Regions from separate parts of the Homo sapiens genome. Here region 2 is linked to region 1. Evidence: promoter capture Hi-C in 16 types of primary human blood cells and fetal thymus (Javierre and others, 2016). All regions are on one chromosome and are shown on one strand. The core of a region is centred on a gene start or on the middle of the fragment in contact, and the rest is flanking DNA. Distances in the headings are between cores, read along the strand shown. Region 1 holds the start of AAAS (aladin WD repeat nucleoporin). Region 2 holds the start of SLC61A1 (solute carrier family 61 member 1).

Region 1 (4,950 bases), core at 63-2,562:
CGCGTACTCGTCCTTCTTTCCCGTTAGTCTTTTCTTCACTTCCGTTGAGTTCCGCCTCGCCGTTTGTCCCTTGCGGTACCCGTCCGCATACGAATCTAGCCCGGGAACCGAGTTGCGGGAGTGCGGTCTGTGCCGTTCCGGCCAGGAGTTTGCCGACTGCAGACGTCCTGCGAACCGGCAAGATGTGCTCTCTGGGGTTGTTCCCTCCTCCACCGCCTCGGGGTCAAGTCACCCTATATGAGCACAATAACGAGCTGGTGACGGGCAGTAGCTATGAGAGCCCGCCCCCCGACTTCCGGGGCCAGGTGGCCAGGGCGAGGAGGGAGGGGACCTACAGGCATGGGGGCGGAGTCGGGGACTACTGGGGAAAGGAGGCAGTGTGACAGGGGCAGGGTCACAGAGTCTGGCGGAGTGGAAACAGCTTGGCCCCGGCAGGAGGCTAGAAGGGCTGGAATCTGTTTTAGGACTGGGATTGGAGTATAACGGGGGAACGGTTAAGGAGCTGTGGAGGAGGCCTAGAGGGAATGGAGAGAATGAGGGAGAATCTAGGGAGTGTGAGGATGCGGGAGAACTATCTAAAAGTTGGGGACAGTATCTGGGGAGGATCAGAAGGATACAACATGGAACTTTTTTCCATGGTGTTCCTGGGAAGGACAAGGAAGGGAAACTGACATTTATTGAGCGTTTGCTATGTAAGAAAGAGGCTGAGTCAGGTGTTTTCTAAAAATGTCATATGGTTTCATAATCACAGCAACCCTATGAAATATTATTCTAGTTGCACAGATACGGGAGCTAAGACTTGTTTCCCATTCTCACAAGTGTTAGCTTTGTGGAAATGGGAAACAGACCTCTGGAATCTCTTATACTTAGCCCAGCGGTGGGTTGGAGATGGCACGGAATTAAAGATTTGGGAAGAGACTGAATCACCGTCACACTCCTCACTTTTGTGCTATAGTGGATCAATCTTCCTGTCCTACAACTGACAAAGGATCCCCTAAAGACCCCTGGAAGGCTGGACCATGGCACAAGAACTGCCTTCATCCATCACCGGGAGCAAGTGTGGAAGAGATGCATCAACATTTGGTGAGGCATGGCAAAGGGTTTCCTGGGTCACAGTCTGCAGATCCTGGAAAATGAGTCAACACCCCTTTACCTTGGGGTGTTCTTCAAAAGACTTTTATTCAGGCTGTCTCCACGAGAGCTGTATATCCTAAATCATATGAAATTTTTAGTCCTTATTATAGAACTCAAATGCTCAATAAATGTCAGGTTCCCTTCCTTGCCCTTCCCAGGAACACTATGGAAAAAGTACTTCCATTTCATCTCTAGTAACTTGCCTTGCTTTCTGGCTTGATTAGGTGAACCTGCTCCCTGCCCCCACCTCATGGCATTACCACTTCTGAGCTTTTACCTGAAGCTCAGCAAGATCAGATATAAGGTTGCACTGAATAATCTCCTACATAGGTCATCCACTTTGCACTTGTAGGAGTGGAGCTACACTACCTGGTTTCATTTTCTTTTTTTTTTTTGAGATGGAGTTTCACTCTTGTTGCCCAGGCTGGAGTGCAGTGGCGTGCTCAGCTCACTGCAACTTCCACCTCCCAGGTTCAAGCGATTCTTCTGCCTCAGTCTCCCGAGTAGCTAGGATTACAGGCATGTGCCACCACGCCCAGCTAATTTTGTATTTTTAGTAGAGACAGGGTTTCTCCATGTTGGTCAGGCTGGTCTTGAACTTCCGACCTCAGATGATGTGCCCGCCTTGGCCTCCCAAAGTGCTGGGATTACAGGCGTGAGCCACCGCGCCCGGCTCATTTTCTTTTTCTTTTTTTTTTTTTTTTTTTTTTTGAGACGGAGTCTTGCTGTGTTGCCAGGCTGGAGTGCAGAGGTGCGATCTCGGCTCACTGCAGCCTCCGCCTCTCTGGTTCAAGCAGTTCCCCTGCCTCAGCCTCCCGAGTAGCTGGTACTATAGGCATGTGCCACCACGCCCAGCTAACTTTTTGTATTTTAGTAGAGATGAGATTTCACCATGTTGGCCAGGGTGGTCTGGCCTCCTGACCTCAGGCCTGCCTTGGCCTCCCAAAGTGCTGAGATTACAGCTACTGCACCTGGACCTATTAATGGCACATATTAATTCCTTTAAGGGTTATTTATGCCAGGCACAGTGACTCACGCCTATAATCCCAGCGCTTTGGTAGGCTGAGGCCAGCAGATTGCTTGAGCTTAGTAGTTTGAGACTAGCCTGGGGAACATGGCGAAACCATGTTCTTTTCTCTACAAGAAAAGTACAAAAATTAGCTGGGTATGGTGGCATGCACCTTTATTCCCAGCTACTTGGGAGGCTTATGTATAGGAGGATCACTTGAGCCTGGGAGGTGGAGGTTGTAGTGAGCCAAGATTGTGCCAGTGCAGTGGCACTGAGTGAGACCTTGTCTCAAAAAAAAAAAAAGGGTTACTTAATATTTTTATTAATACCATTACCATTTGTAGGATAAATTCCTAGAAATTAAGTTGCTGGCTCAGAGGGTATGTTCATCTGTAATTTTGTGAGCTGTTCCAAATAGCCCTCTGTCAAAATGGTACATGTATATGGTCCCACCAGCAGTGTATGGGAGTGCCTGTTTTCCAACACATGTGCTGTCAAGCTTTGATCTTTGGTACTTCAGTACAGTTTAATGGGCATGCCTGTGTGTGTGAAGTTGAATATCAGTTTGTTGAAAAGCCATTCATTCCCAGGCTCCTTGTCTCCTACTTCTGTGGCTGCTGCTTCTCAGGGTTTTTGGTGGCTCCTCTTCCTGATGTCCCTTAAATGTTGGTGTTCTTGGGGCTAGATTTCCAGTTGATGCATCAGACCTGGTGTTCACGTGTTTGCCAAATTATCCTGCTTGAATATTTCGCAGACTTCATATATTCAGCATGCTCAAATCCAGTCTCTTTATTTCTCTCTCCAAATCTGCTTCTCTGGATGGTTCACTTTAAGGAATGATCATATTACTCATTCAGGAAAAAGTGGTTTGAGTATAGGTTCTGGGGTAGATAGATGGTTGAATCCTGACTGCTACTTTCTACTTAGATTACCTTGTTCATATTAATTAGCCTCTTCACACCTTTGTTCTCTCATCTAAAAATGCAGTGATAGTCTGGGCGCGGAAGCTCATGCCTGTAATCCCAGCACTTTGGGAGGCCAAGGCGGGTGTATCACTTGAGGTCAGGAGTTCGAGACCAGCCTGGCCAATGTGGTGAAACTCCGTGTGTAATCCTAATTACTCAGGAGGCTGAGGTGCAAGAATTGCTTGCACCCAGGAGGTAGAGGTTGCAGTGAGCCGAGTTCACACCACTGCACTCCAGCCTGGGTGACAGAGTGAGACTCCGTCTTAACACACACACACACACACACACACACACGCACACACACACACACACACACTGAAACCCCATCTCTACAAAAAATTTAAAAATTAGCTGGGCATGATGGTGTGCACCCGTAGTCTCAGCTCCTCGGGAGGCCGAGGCAAGAATACCTGAGCTCAGGAGATTGAGGCTGCAGCGAGCCGTGATGGTGATATTGCACTCCAGCCTGGGTCACAGAGCAAGACCCTGTCTCAATAAAATAAAAATAAATGCAGTGATAACAATACCTATCTTGTAGGATTGTCATAATGGCTTGATTAGTTAATGTGAGGCACCTAGTCCAGAGCTGGCACATTGTAAGCATATTAGCTGATGTAATTATTACCTAGGTGTTTCTGTTGTATTGCTCTTTCCTTTACTAATGTCTGATTAGTCTTCACATCTTGTTTATGCTAATTCCTAAATCTCTCAAATCTGTCTCTTTTTCTTCATCCCCACCAGTTCAGGCCACTTTCACCTTTTTCCTAGGTTCCTGAAGTAGATTCTTTTTTTTTTTTTGAGACAGAGTCTCACTTTGTCACCCAGGCTGGAGTGCAGTGGCGTGATCTCAGCTCGCTGCAACCTCCGCCTCCTGGGTTCAAGCAATTCTTCTGCCTCAGCCTCTGAGTAGCTGGGACTACAGGTGCACACCACCACGCCTGGTTAATTTTTGTTTTGTTTTATTTTTTTGGTTTTTTTTTTTTGAGACGGAGTCTCGCTCTGTTGCCCAGGCTGGAGTGCAGTGGCACGATCTCGGCTCACTGCAAGCTTCGCCTCCCGAGTTCACTCCATTCTCGTGCCTCAGCCTCCCGAGTAGCTGGGACTACAGGCGCCCACCACCACACCTGGCTAATTTTTTGTATTTTTAGTAGAGATGGGGTTTCACCGTGTTAGCCAGGATGGTCTTGATCTCTTGACCTTGTGATCCGCCCGCCTCAGCCTCCCAAAGTGCTGGGATTACAGGTGTGAGCCACCGCACCTGGCCAATTTTTGTATTTTTAATAGAGATGAGGTTTCACCATCTTGACCAGGCTGGTCTCGAACTCCTGACCTCGTGATCCACCTGCCTTGGCCTCCCAGCGTGCTGGGATTACAGGTGTGAGCCACCGCACCCGGCCCTGAAGTAGATTCTTAACTGATTTATTTTTCTCTATTATTATTATTATTTTTTGAGACAGCATCTTGCTCTGTTGCCCAGTGTGGAGTGCAGTGGCGCAAACATGGAACACGGCTCACTGCATTGTCAGCCCCCAGGGCTCAAGTGATGCTCCTTCCTCAGCCTCCCAAGTAGCTGGGACTACAGGCATGTGCCACCACACCTGCCTAAGTTTTGTATTTTTTTTTGTAGAGACAGCATTTCCCTATGTTGCCTAGGCTGGTCTCAAGCTCTTGAGCTCAGGCGATCCACCTGCCTTGGCCTCCCAAAGTGCTAGGGTTGAGCCACTGCACCTGGACTTTTTCTATTTTTTCTCTTCTTTTTTTTTTTTTTTTTTTTTGTCTGAGATGGAGTCTTGCTCTGTTGCCCAGGCTGGAGTGTGGTGGCACGATGTTGGCTCACTGCAA
Region 2 (4,950 bases), core at 1,509-4,008, 68 kb after region 1:
GAAGTTAGAAACAGAAAACTTTTGCTGATAATCCCACCTCAAAACCTCTAGCTGGGCTGGGCGTGGTGGCTCATGCCTGTAATCCCAACACTTTGGGAGGCCGAGGTGGGTGGATCACCTGAAGTGAGGAGTTCGAGACCAGCCTGGTCAACATGAAACCCCATCTCTATTAAAAATACAAAAATTAGCTGGGCATGGTAGCAGGCACATGTAATCCCAGCTACTTGGGAGGCTGAAGCAGGAGAATTGCTTGAATCCGGGAGGCGGAGGTTGCAGTGAGCCAAGATCGCGCCATTGCACTCCAGCCTGGGCGACAGAGCAAGACTCCGTCTCAAAACAAAAACAAACAAAACAAAACAAAAAAAAACTAAAAAAAAAACCTCTAGCTGCCCACTCACCAGAAACTACTGATAAGGCTACAGGTAAGGATGAGTAAATCAAATCAATGATCATTTAAAAGTGTTTATTTTCTAAATGGGAGTAACACAGAGGGAACTTTTGGCACCTTCTTTCCAGTCCATCACCCCCATCATGTCCTCCCAAACACAAAGCAATGGCAGGAGAAACCACAGGACAGTCACAAAGTCAGTCACAGAGAGATCTGTACAATCCCGGATAGCTGGAATTCAAGAGTCTGTCCCAGCTATCTTGTCCTGGAGTGGGGTTACAGCTCAGGGGCATAGGGCTCCTCAGTAGGTGAAGGTACCCGCAGCTCAGCATCATGCCTTACCACGGTGAAGAGTCCCACCACTGCCAGCAGAGCCATCACCATGACAGCAGAGCAAATGCTGAACATATTCCGAGTGCCTGTTTTTCGATCACTGTCATGGAGGACAAGGAGCCCTAGGCAAGCCAGTGAGTGCAGAGGTACCCGGAACCAGTTGAGTACACCAGCCTGCTCTGTCTCAGGGATCACCTTTCTCCGTAGGAAGCTCATGCTGGGAAAGTATAATCCACAAGCCAACTCAATAAGTAGAAAGGCTATGAAGGACTCCACCGGACTCTCCTGGCCTGGGCTGGTAGAGAAAGTCAACATGAAGAGAGAGAAGACGACGATGAGCACAGCAAGGGACAGCAGGTGCATGGGCTGAAGGTGGTACCTCTTGGAGGTGGCGATACGGTACAGGGAAGAGCCAAGCAGGCTGGCTGCCATGAAGCTGGAGAAGATAATGCCCAGAGGGGCCCCGTGTGGGTCCAGCACAGGTGTCCAGAGGAAGACAAAGATGAAGATGACACTCTCAAATAGAGCTTGTATGGTGCCCAACAGCAGCACGCGGCGGTCCGACAGGAGGCAGCGCAGGCCTCCAGCACAGGTCCTTGAGAAGGCACGCTGCCGGTCATAGTTCTCCCCCCAGTTTCGAAGGGCCAAGGCCCCTGCCAGAGCCAGGAGAGGGATGGCAGCCACAAAGGGCGCTACAGGCCCCAGCCCTATCCAGCTGGCTACAGCCTCAGCTGCCACACCTGCCACTACAGCCAGCACATGGTTCCAGAAGGCAGCTCGAGCAAAGGTAGCTGGGATCCACTCAGCAGGGAAGTCATGCCGTTCCACGTGCTCATGGATATACCAGGCCTCGAAGGCTGAGAAGAGCAGGGCTGTGGACAGCCCACCAAGTGCTCGCCCCACTAGCAGCACAAAGTAGTCTTGAGAGAGTTTGGTTAAGCAGCATAGTGAGTAAGTCAGGGAGAAGAGGACACAAGAATTCTTGCGACCCAGCCAATCCACAAGGGAGGAGGCCACTAGGCCAAAGAGGACTGTAGAGGCAAGGCCACAGACATAGAGGATGGCAATTTGACCTTCCAGGAAGTAGTAATGCTGGTAGAGTTTATAGAGGTAGGGGGCCTGAAGCCAATCAGCTGCCAGGGCCAGGAAGTAGACCTGATAGAAGTCCAGTTGAAACCGAAGGAAGGAGGGATTGCTGCAGGCCCTTCCAGGGGGTTTAGCCCGGCATCTTGACAGTTCCAGCCCCAGGCAGGAGGCCAGGAGGCCTACAAAAGCAAGGTAGGCAGTCACCAGCATGGTGGGCCCCCGGACGACCTGGGAAGAGAGGTGGGAGTCAGAGCCATATCCATCCTTCGGGCAGCACGGTCAAGGGGCTGTCTTAAGCAGATGGCAGCTCCACCCAACCCCGCTGCCAACTCCACTCCCCAAGATCTCAGACCGGAGGGACCAGTTGGGTGGGTGGGAGGAGTGGCCACGCCAAAGCTGTCTCCTAGGACACTGTGGGGCAGGGAGGGGTAAGAAGACAGGGGAGAGGACTGGGCACTCAACCCATCCTTGCCTGTGAAGAGGGAGTCCCTTTCAATAATCCCGCTCCCGCAAATTCTACTGCCCTTTCCCACAGCAGCTCCCGTACACTTCCTTCTATTACCTCCCGTCCTCGCTGCGGAGCCTCTTTTTGCCCTCAGTGTCTCATCCTCTGTCCCGGGCATCCCTCCCACCCGCGCAGGCCTCTCGAGTTGCTTCAGGGTCATGCGTGTGCATCTCAGAGGCCCACTCCTCCAGGTCACTGGCACCCCACTGCGCCCCCTAGCCCCTGCCCAGCCCTGCCACATCCACTTGCACCTCGCCCAGACTCCGCCTCACCTGCTGCCCCGGTCTGCGGGGACGCCCCGGACACGTCCGGCTCCAGGCCGCCAGGCCACCCTCCCCGCTGTGGCTCCGGCTCCGGCTCGGGTTCCAGCAGCGCTCCCGCCCCTCACAGCCTGCTTCCGGGAGCCGGGCAGGCCTCTGGCCGCCGCCATGATGGCTTCATCACGTGACGGGGGCGCGGCGCCAAAACCCCGCCCCGCCCCGCCCGCCCGCCCTCCTTCCCTTACCCGGGCGCGGAACTCCTGACGCCTGGGGTGGGTCGGGAAGGGGCGACCATAGGAGGCTGCGGTTGCTTCTCCTGGCCTGGCCTCGCTCGCTGCCATCCCGTGACACCTGCTCCTCTGGCTCTTGGATGCCTGAGGGGCCACCCTGAAATAAGTGCCAATTTTCTTTTCTTCCGTGCAGTGCTCGGGAAAGATGCCCGCAGTCCGGTAGAGCCAAGGGTTGGAGCTTCCTAAGGAACAGCACCGCTGCCCGAAGCCGAGAAGGTCTCCTTGGTTTGCCTCCTCTCCCACTGCAGTGACCTCCATGCAAGAGAAGCCAGTATGGTCCAGACACCTGAGGGAGGCGGTGTGGTGTAAAGAACTTGGAGTCGGGCTGCAGACAGACTAAGGCGCAGTCCTGCCCCTGTCACTTACCAGCTGTGTGGCCTTGGGCAAGCCGCATAACTTCCCAGTGTCCCAGTTTCTTTGAAGTCACAGGATAGCAATGCCCAAATAAAGAAGGCTAAAGTTCAGTGGCAGCATGGGGTTAAGAACTTCAGCCTTGGAGCTTAATTCCCTACCTTCTGCCACTTACAAGCTGTTTTACCTTGGAAAAACTATTTAACCTCTCTACAGCTTCCGTATCATCTCCTCAAGAGCCTCCAATGACTTCCCATCTCACTAAGGGTAAAAGCCGAAGTATTTATAATGGCCTACAAGACCCTCTGTCCTCTGACCCTCTGCCACTCCTCTGACTTCATCCCCTGCTCCTCTCCCTCCCATCTATGTTGGCTACCACCAGGGCTTTTGCACACTGTTCCCTGTACAGTTCTTCTCCAAGATATCCACGTGGTTCCCCCCCCCACCTCCTCCAGTTCTCTGTTCAAATGTCACCTGATCTTGGCTGGGCCTGGTGGCTCATTCCTGTAATCCCAGCAGTTTAGGAGGCTGAGGCAGGCCGATCAGTTGAGGTCAGGAGTTCAAGATCAGCCTGGCCAACATGGTGAAACCCCGTCGCTAGTAAAAAAATATAAAAATTAGCCAGGCATGGTGGTGGGCACCTGTAATCCCACCTACTCGGGAGGCTGAGGCAGGAGAATCGCTTGAACCAGGGAGGCAGAGGTTGCAGTGAGCCAAGATCACGCCACTGCACTCCAGTCTGGGTGACAGAGCGAGACTCTGTCTCACAAAAAAATAAAAAATAAAATAAAATTTTAAAAAATGTCACCTGATCAGAGGGGCCTTCCATGGCCCTCCTGTTTAAAATAGCAACACCACCACCTCCAGCACAGTAATCTACCTACTTTCCTTCCAATTTTCTATTCTCTCTGCTGCTTTTACTCTGCAGTACACTATGTATTTTCCTTGTTTATTTATTTACTATCTTGGCCAGGTGTGGTGGCTCACACCTGTAATCTCAACACTTTGAGAGGCCAAGGTGGGTGAATCACTTGAGGCCAGGAATTTAAGACCAGTCTGGCCAACATGTCGAAACCCCATGCCTACTAATAATACAAAAAATTGCTGGGCGCGGTGGCTCACACCTGTAATCCCAGCACTTTGGGAGGCCGAGGCGGGCGTATCATGAGGTCAGGAGTTCAAGACTAGCCTGGCCAATATGGCGAAACCCCGTCTCTACTAAAATTACAAAAAAATTTGCTGGGCATGGTGGTGTGCACCTGTAATCCCAGCTACTTTGGAGGCTGAGGCAGGAGAATTGCTTCAACCTGGGAGGCAGAGGTTGCGGTAAGCCGAGATTGCACCACTGCACTCCAGCCTGGGCAACAGAGCAAGACTCCGTCTCAAAACAAATAAACAAAAAAATTAGCTGGGCCTGGTGGTGCGCGCTTGTAATCCCACCTACTCAGGAGGCTGAGGTACGAGAATTGCTTGAACCTGGGAAGCGGAGGCTGCAGTGAGCCAAGATTACACCACTGCACTCCAGCCTAGGGGACAGAGCAAGACTTCGTCTCTAAGTAAATAAGTAAATATTTACTATCTCTTTCCCTACAGATTTTTATCTGTTTTGTTCACCTGTATTCCCTATACTTAAAGCAGTCATTGATAAGTATTAATCATAAATATTCCATAAATAGTCTATGAATAAATGAATAAGTTATGTAAATTACTATCAAAAGTACTGGCCCATATTAACAT

Evidence for each region. Contacts are between HindIII fragments. The CHiCAGO score rates a contact against its expected background, and 5 or more counts as called.
Region 2: the fragment with the promoter of SLC61A1 here is called in contact with a fragment that was not itself captured in region 1 in 1 of 17 cell types (total B cells); the score reaches 5.1 in total B cells.

What each region holds. Positions count from the first base shown.
Region 1 is chr12:53,316,698-53,321,647 of GRCh38, reverse strand. It overlaps AAAS (aladin WD repeat nucleoporin), which reads left to right and starts at 38. Exons shown (of 16, transcript NM_015665.6): 1 at 38-305; 2 at 956-1,083. The coding sequence starts at 183. RefSeq lists enhancers at 2-191, 1,410-1,499. The HindIII fragment of the contact is 2,664 bases long and covers 1-2,644 here.
Region 2 is chr12:53,249,903-53,254,852 of GRCh38, reverse strand. SLC61A1 (solute carrier family 61 member 1) reads right to left here and starts at 2,758. Exons shown (of 2, transcript NM_032889.5): 1 at 2,585-2,758; 2 at 447-2,035. The coding sequence starts at 2,017. The coding sequence ends at 665. RefSeq lists silencers at 2,436-2,485, 2,496-2,775 and enhancers at 2,241-2,912, 3,046-3,095. The HindIII fragment of the contact is 5,764 bases long and covers 1-4,950 here.